Linked DNA regions of Homo sapiens: region 2 is linked to region 1. The links are contacts of gene promoters, found by promoter capture Hi-C in blood cells and fetal thymus (Javierre and others, 2016). All regions are on one chromosome and are shown on one strand. The core of a region is centred on a gene start or on the middle of the fragment in contact, and the rest is flanking DNA. Distances in the headings are between cores, read along the strand shown.

Evidence for each region. Contacts are between HindIII fragments. The CHiCAGO score rates a contact against its expected background, and 5 or more counts as called.
Region 2: a fragment that was not itself captured here is called in contact with the fragment with the promoter of FGD1 in region 1 in 1 of 17 cell types (monocytes); the score reaches 6.0 in monocytes.

The regions. Positions count from the first base shown.
Region 1 is chrX:54,494,656-54,500,827 of GRCh38, forward strand. FGD1 (FYVE, RhoGEF and PH domain containing 1) reads right to left here and starts at 1,579. Exons shown (of 18, transcript NM_004463.3): 1 at 471-1,579. The coding sequence starts at 777. RefSeq lists a silencer at 1,642-1,691. The HindIII fragment of the contact is 12,526 bases long and covers 1-5,557 here.
Region 2 is chrX:55,016,263-55,019,786 of GRCh38, forward strand. ALAS2 (5'-aminolevulinate synthase 2) reads right to left here. Exons shown (of 11, transcript NM_000032.5): 7 at 1,224-1,403. Among named protein-coding and RNA genes, the nearest start is that of ALAS2, 13 kb to the right of the region's middle. The HindIII fragment of the contact is 250 bases long and covers 1,430-1,679 here.

The DNA of each region.
Region 1 (6,172 bases), core at 329-2,828:
GGTATCTACTTCATGAGGGTTCCTGAAGCTGAAATGAAAATCCATGTAAAGCACCCAGTCCAGTGCCTGGTACAATGTAGGCGCTTGGCAAATGTAAGGCTCCTTTTTTTCTTCTGTTCTCCAAACGAAACCCTGGTTTCCCCAACCAAATATCCAAGGATTGCTGCCTTGCAATCCTCCCTCTTTTTCTCGCGAGTGCTCCCTCTCCCATTAGCCTCAGCAGACAGAGGAGAAGGGGGTTGGAGAGGTTGAGGGGCACAAGGGACAGAGAGAGGAGATGGGGACAGAGGTTGAAAGGACTGGACATAAGGCCAAGGGACGTGGGGAGGAGGAGGGGTTTGAGGGAACCCAAAGGGCCGAGGTAAGCGAGCCTGTTCCGAGGTGGGGCTTAGAGGGCTCGAGAACAAGAACCCGCTCCCAGTACCAGGCCCGTGGCCCGGGCTCCCATGCTCTCTCAGTCGCTCACTCACCAGGCCGAGGCTGCGAGCCCTCCAGGTGGTAAGAGAAGCGCAGGGCCCGGTGGTGCTGTGGACTGGGACCGCAGGGCAAGACCCGGTGGCCTGGAGCAGCGCCCAGGCTGGTGTCCGAGGGTCCGACAAACTGGGGATCCAGTGGGCCGCCAAGAGCCGAACCTGAGCCCCTGCGCGCCAGCAGTCCGGGTTCCGAGGCTCCAGGGTCCGAGTCGGCACAGGCCGGCGGAGCGGCGCCCGGCGGGTTCGTGGCCGGGTGTTCGGGCTCCGAAGGCCCGGCGCCCCCCGGGGCTCGGTGGCCATGCATGGTCCGGGCCTGGGCGCGGGGCCCGAGCTCCCCGCTTGGCTCCAGCTCCTGGGGCGGAGGCGCGGGCGGAGGAGGCCCGGCGCCCGGCGGAGCAGCGGCCTCAGGATCGGGGGGCGGGACTGCGGGCTCAGCCCCACTGCAGAGACTCAAGCCCCCAGCCCGGGCCCGGGCCAGCAGCCGTGGCAGCGGTGGCAGTAGCAGCAGCAGCAGCCGCGGCCACCGCCGCTGCCGTGCCAGGCATCGCCGGCCCCGGCCCCGGCCCCGCGCGGGGAGTGGGCTCGGCGGGGCCGGGGGCCCGCTGGGGAGCGCTGTCTATGCGGCTGCGGTTGGGCGAGGGTTGGAGGGCTACGCTCGGCGGGGACTCTCCGGTGGACGGCGAGCCACTTCCGTGGCCCCGGGGCGAGAAGTCGGTCGGATCCAAGTGCGGGGTCTCTTCTTTCTCCCCGAATGGGAATAGATCTGGGCTCTCCTGGCTGGTTGGGAAGCGTTCTTCCTCCCGCCGCAGCCGAGGCCGGGGGCGGAGGAGAGGGGAGGGGAGAGGAGGGGAGGGAAGAGAGAACGGCGGTGGCCGGGGGCGCGCGTGTGCGCTGCGCTTGGGCTGCGGGGCTCGCCTTCAGCCAGTAGTCCCAGACGATGCTCCAGCCGCGGGGGCAGGAGAACGGCCTGGGCCGGGCTCCACCGTCCTCCCCAGCTTCAGCCTGGGTCTCGGCGGCGGCGGGCGGGAAGGAGCCCTGGGAAGGGGGGTGGGGAGGCGGGAGCCTCGCAGAGGCAGCCGCAGCCACAGCGGCACTGGGACCCAGTTACCGGGGCCCCGCCCCCTCGCCCGGGATTTGCGCCTGACCACGCCCCCTCGCTCGGGGCCGCCTCACTTCTCGCTGCTACCGCTCTCAAGGCCCTCCTGCCCCTTAAAAAATTCCCCCTCAGCCTGCTTTCCCCACAGGCAAGTCTCCGGGCTCAACCCCCTCCCCCCATATCTGCCCTTCCATCCCATCTCAGGTCTTCCCCCCTCTGCTTGCCGTTCACTCTCTTTTCCAAAACCCTTTCTTCATGTTCCTGAGTGTTCCTAGGGCTTGGCTCATAGAGGACCTGTCTCTGATTCTCCTTCACTTTGCTCAGACCAGATATCTTGGTCCCTTACTTAGTCACTTTCTTAAATACCCTCAGTTCCCTGATTTGTCGCATCCGCCTGGCAACATCCCAGTCTTGAATCGGTCCAACTGTCCGCCTTTTCCATGCCTGCGCCCAGGCAGCTAAACATTGCTGGGGAAAACTATTCAACTTCACAGATTTGTGCCACTATAAACCCATGGTTCCCAGCTTCTACCAGGCCCTCAGTTTTGACCCACAACCCTACTAGTCAGCTCTCCCTCTGTTCTCCACAGTGACCATTTCAAACCTTCTCCTTTCCCCTCAAACCCCAAGTGCTCCATCTGCCCTGTAACCCTCAGCAAATAACCTGACCTGCTGCAGAGAGTAAACAGAGCCACCGTAGAGGAAGCTCTTGACTTTTTGCTACGAAGCCTAGGAATTTGTCCTTGCTCCTTCCCAACAGCATCTAAACATAGACCTCTTCCATCTAAAAACAAATAAACAATTACCAAGAATTCTGCCTCTCCAACCACCTCCTTCTCTTCTCTTCTACAAACTTCTCAAAAGAGTTGCCTACACCCAACTGTCTTCATTTTCCCACCTCCCACTTATCTTTCAACCCACTCCAATCTGCCTCCACTACTTGCTTGAAACTGCTCTCTCTCATCAGGGTCTGCCATGAAACATCTCACTAAATCCCATAGAATCTTTTCTTTTTTTTTTTTTTTGAGACAAGAGTCTCACTCTGTCGCCCAGGCTGGAATGCAGCGGCACGATCTCGGCTCACTACAATCTCCGCCTCCTGGGTTCAAGCGATTCTTCTGCCTCAGCCTCCCGAGTAGCTACGCCCAGCTATTTTTTTGTATTTTTAGTAGAGACGGGGTTTCACCATACTGGCCAGGCTTGTCTCGAACTTCTAACCTTGTAATTCGCCGGCCTCTGTCTCCCAAAGTGCTGGGATTACAGGCGTCAGCCACCGCGCCCAGCCCCCATAGAATCTTTTCAGAGGTTATCCTACTTGGTTTCTTGATAGCATTTGGCACTGTTGACCACTCCCTCCTCCTTAAACCACTTCCATGACACTGCACTTTCCTTGTTTTTCTTCTACTTCCTTAGTAATTCTTTTTTTACTTTCCAGGCTCCTCTTTGTCCAACGCTTTATGCTGGTGCTCTTCAGGGCTTTGGCCTGAGCGCTCTTGTCCTCTCTCTACATGTGATTTTTTTTTCTTTCTTTCTTTCTGAGACAGAGTCTTGCTCTGTCGCCTAGGCTGGAGTGCAGTGGCGCGATCTAGGCTCACTGCAACTTCCGCCTACCGGGTTCAAGCTATTCTTCTGCCTCAGCCTCCCAAGTAGCTGGCATTACAGGCATGCACCACCAAGCCCGAATAATTTTTGTATTTTTAGTAGAGACGGGGTTTTGCCATATTGGCCAGGCAGGTCTCCAACTACTGACCTCAAGTGATCCACTTGAGGAAAGAGAAGCCTCGGATTACAGGCCGCTCTTTTCTTTATCTCATTTGCTCCCCTGGCTTCAATGATCATATCTTTGCTGATGACTCCCAAATTGATACCTCAAAACCAGATATTTCTCCTGACCCATGCATTCAACTGGTTATTAGGCAGCTCTACCTGAATATCCCAGAGACACCTAAAACCTCAGCTTCTTCCCAACTCAAGGCATCCTCCTTCCAACCTGTTTGTCCTTCTTTGTGTCTTACCTTAGTGAATGACCCCAGTCAAAGCAGAAACCCGGGTTACACCCTTAATTCTTTTCTCTCCTCCATCACCCATGCAGTCACCAAGTCCCATCATTTTGACCTCCTACCAAATCTATTTATGTAGTCTCTACATTTCTGGGGCCACTACCCTGGTTTAGACCAGAACCATTTCTAACCTGCAATACTGTCACAGCCTCCCTATTTCAGTCTTGTTCTCTGGAATCTATTCTCTACACTATAGGCAGTGTATATCTTTTGAAAACATAAATAAGGCCGGGTGCGGTGGCTCACACCTGTAATACCAGCACTTTGGTAAGCCGAGGTGGGTGGATCACTTCAGGTCAGGAGTTCGAGATCAGCCTGGCCAAAATGGTGAAACCCCATCTCTACCAAAAATACAAAAATTAGCCGGGCATGGGGGCGGATGCCTGTAATCCCAGCTACTTGGGAGGCTGAGGCAGAGAATTGCTTGAACCCGGGAGGCGGAGGTTGCAGTGAGCCAAGATCATGCTGCTTCCAGCCTGGGCGACAGAGCGAGACTCGTCTCAAAAAAAAAAAAAAAAAAAAAAATATATATATATATATATATAATTAAATAAAAGTTAAATCAAATTATATCACTCCCATGTTTAGGACCCTTCAGTGAGTCTCTACTGGCTCAAAATGAAACCCACCTTCCTTAACAGGAAAGGTTAAATGGCCCTTCATGATCTGTGCCCCTGCCAGCCTTTCCGTGCTGAAATTCTTAGACTATTCCTTAGTCTCTCTAGCCTCCAAGTTTTTGCATATGCTGTTCTCGCTGAGTGAAACTTTCTCTGCATCTCCCCAATTCCACTTCATTTGTTCTTCAGATCTCAGCTCATTCAACGAATGTCTTTTGAACACAAACTATGGGCCAGGCACCATGTGATGCACTAGCTATGCAGCAGTGAATAAGACAGACATGAACAAGACAATGGTGAAAAAACTGTCCTCAGAGTTCATTGGCTGGTACTGGAGAGGATGTGAAATAAACACATAATTACAACACATAAACACACATAATTACAAATTGTGATAAGGTTATAAAGGGACAGAACAGGGTGATAGGAAAGAGAATAACGGGTATGTGTGTGTGGGGGGGTGTGATTTAGCCTGAGGGGTCAGGCAAGGGCTGCTATTTAAGCTGAGCCCTGAAGGAGTGGGAGTTGGCAGATGAGTGGACACAAAAGTGCTCCAGGCAAAGGATACAGCAAGTAGGAAGGCCCTGGGGAGAAAGAGAAATGGCCTATTTAGGAGCTATAGAAGGCTAATATGGCTAAAGCATAGTGCTTGGAAGGCAAGAGGGGTGGGATATGAGATTCAAAAGGTAGGCAGGAGCTAGATTATGCAGGGCTTTTTAGGCCATGTTAAGAAGAATGGGTTTTATTCTACAAGCAATGAAAAGGTATTGAAGCAGTGCTTTTAAATGTGGGTCAAACTGGAGAAGGTACTGAAATCAATTTAAGAATAGAAAATATAAGAATGGGCTGGGCATGGTGGCTCACGCCTGTAATCCCAGCACTTTGGGAGGCCGAGGTGGGTGGATCACCTGAGGTCAGGAGTTTGAGGCCAGCCTGACCAATATGGTGAAATCCCGTCTACTAAAAATACAAAAATTAGCCGAGTGTGGTGGAGCGTGCCTGTAATCCCAGCTACTCGAGTGGCTGAGGCAGGAGAATGGCTTGAACCCGGGAGATGGAGGTTGCAGTGAGGCGAGATCGTGCTACTGCACTCCAGCCTGGGCGACAGAGCAAGACTCCATCTCACATACACAACAAATAAATAAATTAATTAATAAAAAGAGTGTATCATAGGATCATGTAGGAAGGGTAAATATGTTTCATGAAATGCTTCAGTTTGTATCGTATGTGAACTGGATCCCGAGGAAATAGTATCTCTTTTGCAGATACCTCACATCCCCAAAATGCTGAAATACACATTGAAAGGTTTTAAGCTTGAGATTCACAGGGTATATTTAACGTTTTACAAAGATGACTTTGGTTGCTCTAGATTGAATTGCAGGTGGACAAGATTAGGAACCTACTGCGGCCAGAGATGATGGTGAGCTGACTAAGGAGGTGGCAGTGGAGATGGAGAGAGGCAGACTGATTTGAGAGATATTTAGAATTGAGAAGGCTTGGTGTGAAAGCTTGGGAGAAGGAGGGGGAGGGGGGAATCAAGGGATTCCATTCCAATCAAGGGGGGAACTCCAAGGGATCTGGTGATGGTAGGCCAGTCACTCACTGAGATGAGGAAGACAGAAAGAGGAACAGATTTTCAGGGGAAGATCAAGAGTTCAGTTTTGGATATGCTAAGCTGGACATGCCCTTGAGATATCCAAGTGGAGAAGTCAAGTAGATAGTGGTATATACATCCCAGGGGAGAAGTCTGTTTCAGATATAAGTTAGAGTTGTCAGCATAGAGATGGCATTAAAAGTCAAGAGTAGAAAAAAATCACCCTGAAACAGTAAAGACTGAGAAAGGAAGAGGATCCATGATTGAGCTTTGAGGAACTTCAACTTTACAGGTTGAGTGAAGGAGCAGGAGTTGGCAGAGACTGAAAAAGA
Region 2 (3,524 bases), core at 305-2,804, 520 kb after region 1:
AGAAATAATGAATTTGAATAGTCTCAGTGGTAGAAATATACAAAAGGGATAGGATAGTTTTACTTTATTGCTAGTGTTAGAAATGTGGGAGTGGGCATAATAGTAAGTTTCTTACATATATTAACTCATTTAATTTGCATACCTATTTAATTATTATCACTTACATTTTTCAAATAAGCAACTGAGAACTGAGACACAGAGCAATTAAGAAGCTTGCCCAAGCTAGTAAATGGTCATGCTAGGATTTGAACATGGATAGTCTGGTTTTAGAGCCTGTGTGTATAGTCATTACATGCCACTTAAGATACCTAAATCAGGGAATACTATGGACTCTTTTGTTTCAGTTGGAAAAGGGACAAACTGAAATGAGTTGAGGACCTCTTCCCTTAAATAAATCCATAAGAGGATGCCTAAAACACATGATTTCTACACAACAGGGCCAGCAATAGAAAGCTTTGGACATTGTTTCAATTGAGCAAAGAAAGGAGGTAGGAGTGTGAAGATCATTTAATTCTACTAAAGCATAATAACTAGAATGGTTTCTATCATCTCTAATTCTTACAACCAGATATTTTACCTTTGGGAAAATTGAGGCTTAGACAGTTAAAGAGTTACCCATGGTCATAGCCAGTAACTGTCAAAGGTGGGATTTGAACCCAGGTCTCTCTGACTTGAAAACCTGTTTTGACCCCAATGCTTCATACTGGACCTTGAAAAAAATCCTAGGCAATGGTTTTTGAAATTTCCTTCATAAAAACCAAACACTGGGATTATTGATTTACATATCATTTCTAACAAGAGAAGTGTTACTCGAGGAATTGGAGTTATATGTGTTAGGGTGCAGATACTCACTTTAGCACCAACTTGCTGAGCCACTCAAGATGAATTGGATGCCAACTCTGAACTTTAGTTTCTTTACCTATAAGATGAATGTAATAGCTGCCTCCATTCTTTGGCATTTACTAGCTGTGTGACCTTGGACAAATTACTCTTATGTCTCAGTTTCCTCATGTAAAAAATCAAAATAATAATAACACCTATCACATAGAATTGTTCAGAAAATTAAATGAATTAATACATGTAAAATACTAATAATTTTGCTTGGCACATAATAAACACTATAAATATTAGCTGTTATAATGTTATCGTCATCATCATCATCATGATCATCATGGTTTTTGTGAGACCAACACTAGTAAACATACACTCACTCATATACATACCATCCATGGAGTGGACAGTCTCAAAGGCCACAATTTTGGGTATCTTAGGGTTAGACTTCTCTAGAAGTTTCTTTAGGTGGTCAGGGTCATTGTGCCTGAAGACAAACTTGGCTGCTCCACTGTTACGGATACCTTGGATCATGGAAGCATGGTTGCCTGCGTCTGAGTAAATCTCGCACCCTGAGGAAGCAGATGTATAATCCTTAAGCTTCTGTCCCAGTACTCCCACTTCAACCTTCAGGTTTGACCTGGCAAAGAAAAGGGCCAACCCTTTCTTCCCTTTGAAGACCTTGCTCTGCTTCTTCCTTCTCTGGGAACTTTTGTGACACTTCTTTCTCCCTTGGAAGGACTTCACTGTTCCCAAATTCTGACCCCTACATCCTTCCCTCCAGTCATTTGTAACCCTGGTCTAGCCTCTGACTGCCTTGGGGTGGAAGAACATTTAATTTCCCAAGAAGCTTCAGAGTTTTTTGAGGACGGGACCTATTTTCCTTCTCCCCAATATATAAGATCAAGACTTGAAAAAGGGATTACCCCAGGGAATGTTTGTTGACTCGGACTGATGCTAGATTGTTCCTAGTCTAGATGAAATTCCATCCATTCCAGGTAGCATCTGCTTGTGGTTACAGGGATGGATATTTATCAGGCTTTTACTGTTGGAATCATAAGCTTATGGCATGTCAGAGCTGGCAGGGCTGTTAGTGATCATGGGATTCATCCCTTTACTATACAAGTGAGAAAGCTAAGGTCCAGAAAGATTTGAAGAATGCAGGGCTTTTTACTGGGCAATCCTGGTGGGGCAGGTGGGCATGTGAAATTGGTAGAGGGAGTTGATTCCTGGACCTCCCCAACCCCTGCCACCAACTGCACTGCCATCAAGGAACTGTGGCCTTATTATAAGATTAAGGGATAACTTCCACCTGAGAAAATGAGTTATGGCTTTCTGGAGAAAATGGCTTGAAAGACAAGCAGACTGGGAGTTGCATGGGAGCAAAAACATCTTATTATCTCTCTGTCTCTGGTGTCCAGTATAAGAGTAAGCACACAGTAGATGCTAAGTAAACATTTATTAAATGAATGGATAAATAAACTGATGACAGATTTATAAGTAAGTGAATGAGTATATGAATGAATGTATTACTGAATGAAATAGTGAGAGGAGGGATGCAAAAAGGTGAGACCGAAGAGATACATAGAAGCCAGATTATTGAGAACTTTAGAAGCTGTGATAAGAAATTTGGATTTGGTCCTGGGGGAATGGGGGTCCACTAAAGGGTTTTGACCAGGGCTGAGGGTGGGGTGACAAAGATAGTTTTGCATTAAAAAAAATTCTGACTGTTGTAAAGAATAGATTATCGGAGGGCAAAGGTAAAATTTTCTTTAAAAAATGATGTTGGATCAGGCTAGGATGCTGGCAGTAGAGATGGAAAGAAGTTTAATGGTTGAGGAGGGGATGGACTAAAAACAACTTAAAGATGTTGAGTTTAGTTGGGGCTTATGGGTGGACTCAAAAAAAGTTTCTGAGAAGTGGTGGTAATATTTTTGCTGTGCTGAAGAATCAGCAGGAGGTGAGGAAGTAGATAGTAAGAGCGAAGACTTCTCTCAAGCAGTTTGCCTGTTATAGGGAGGAAAGAGGGCAGTAGCTAGAGAGTGATCAGGGGTTGAGGCAATGTTTTTTTATAAGATACAAGAGACTTGAAAACATGTTTAAAGAGAGGGAGAGGCTGAAGATACAGGAGAGGAGGAGAGAGCCAATAGGTCAAGATTCCTAAGGTGGTAGAGGGGAATGGGGCACAGAGCAACAGTGGAAGGATTAGTCACAAGAAAAAGGATACTTCTTCCACTATGACAGAAGAGAAGGAGTGAGGAGAGGACATTTGAAGATGCTTATGAGTTTGTAGGTGCTTTGTGGCTGGGAGTCAAGGACATTGCTGTCTGGTATCTTCTATTTTGAATGTAGTAGAACATGAAGTTGTCTGCTGAGGGAGATGGGGAGGAGGGGGTGTGGGAAGGCTGAGGATAATGGTGGTTTGGCAAAACTGCCCCATAAACTTCGAGAACTGACCAGGGAAATGGGATTGTCAGAGACCATGGAGAACCCAGTAGAGGTTAAGAGTATGAATTTTTAGTGACTCCTGTCTGAGCAACTGTATGAGCCCGGAATTGATATAGTGAAGATGGAGGGTTGTATTCATTCTGGATTGGGCCTTGGCGGAAGGACAACAAGGCGTATGAGGTGAGGACATTACAGACTAGAGAGTAGGAGACTGGGAATATGGGAACCAGTGTACAAGTGAAGGG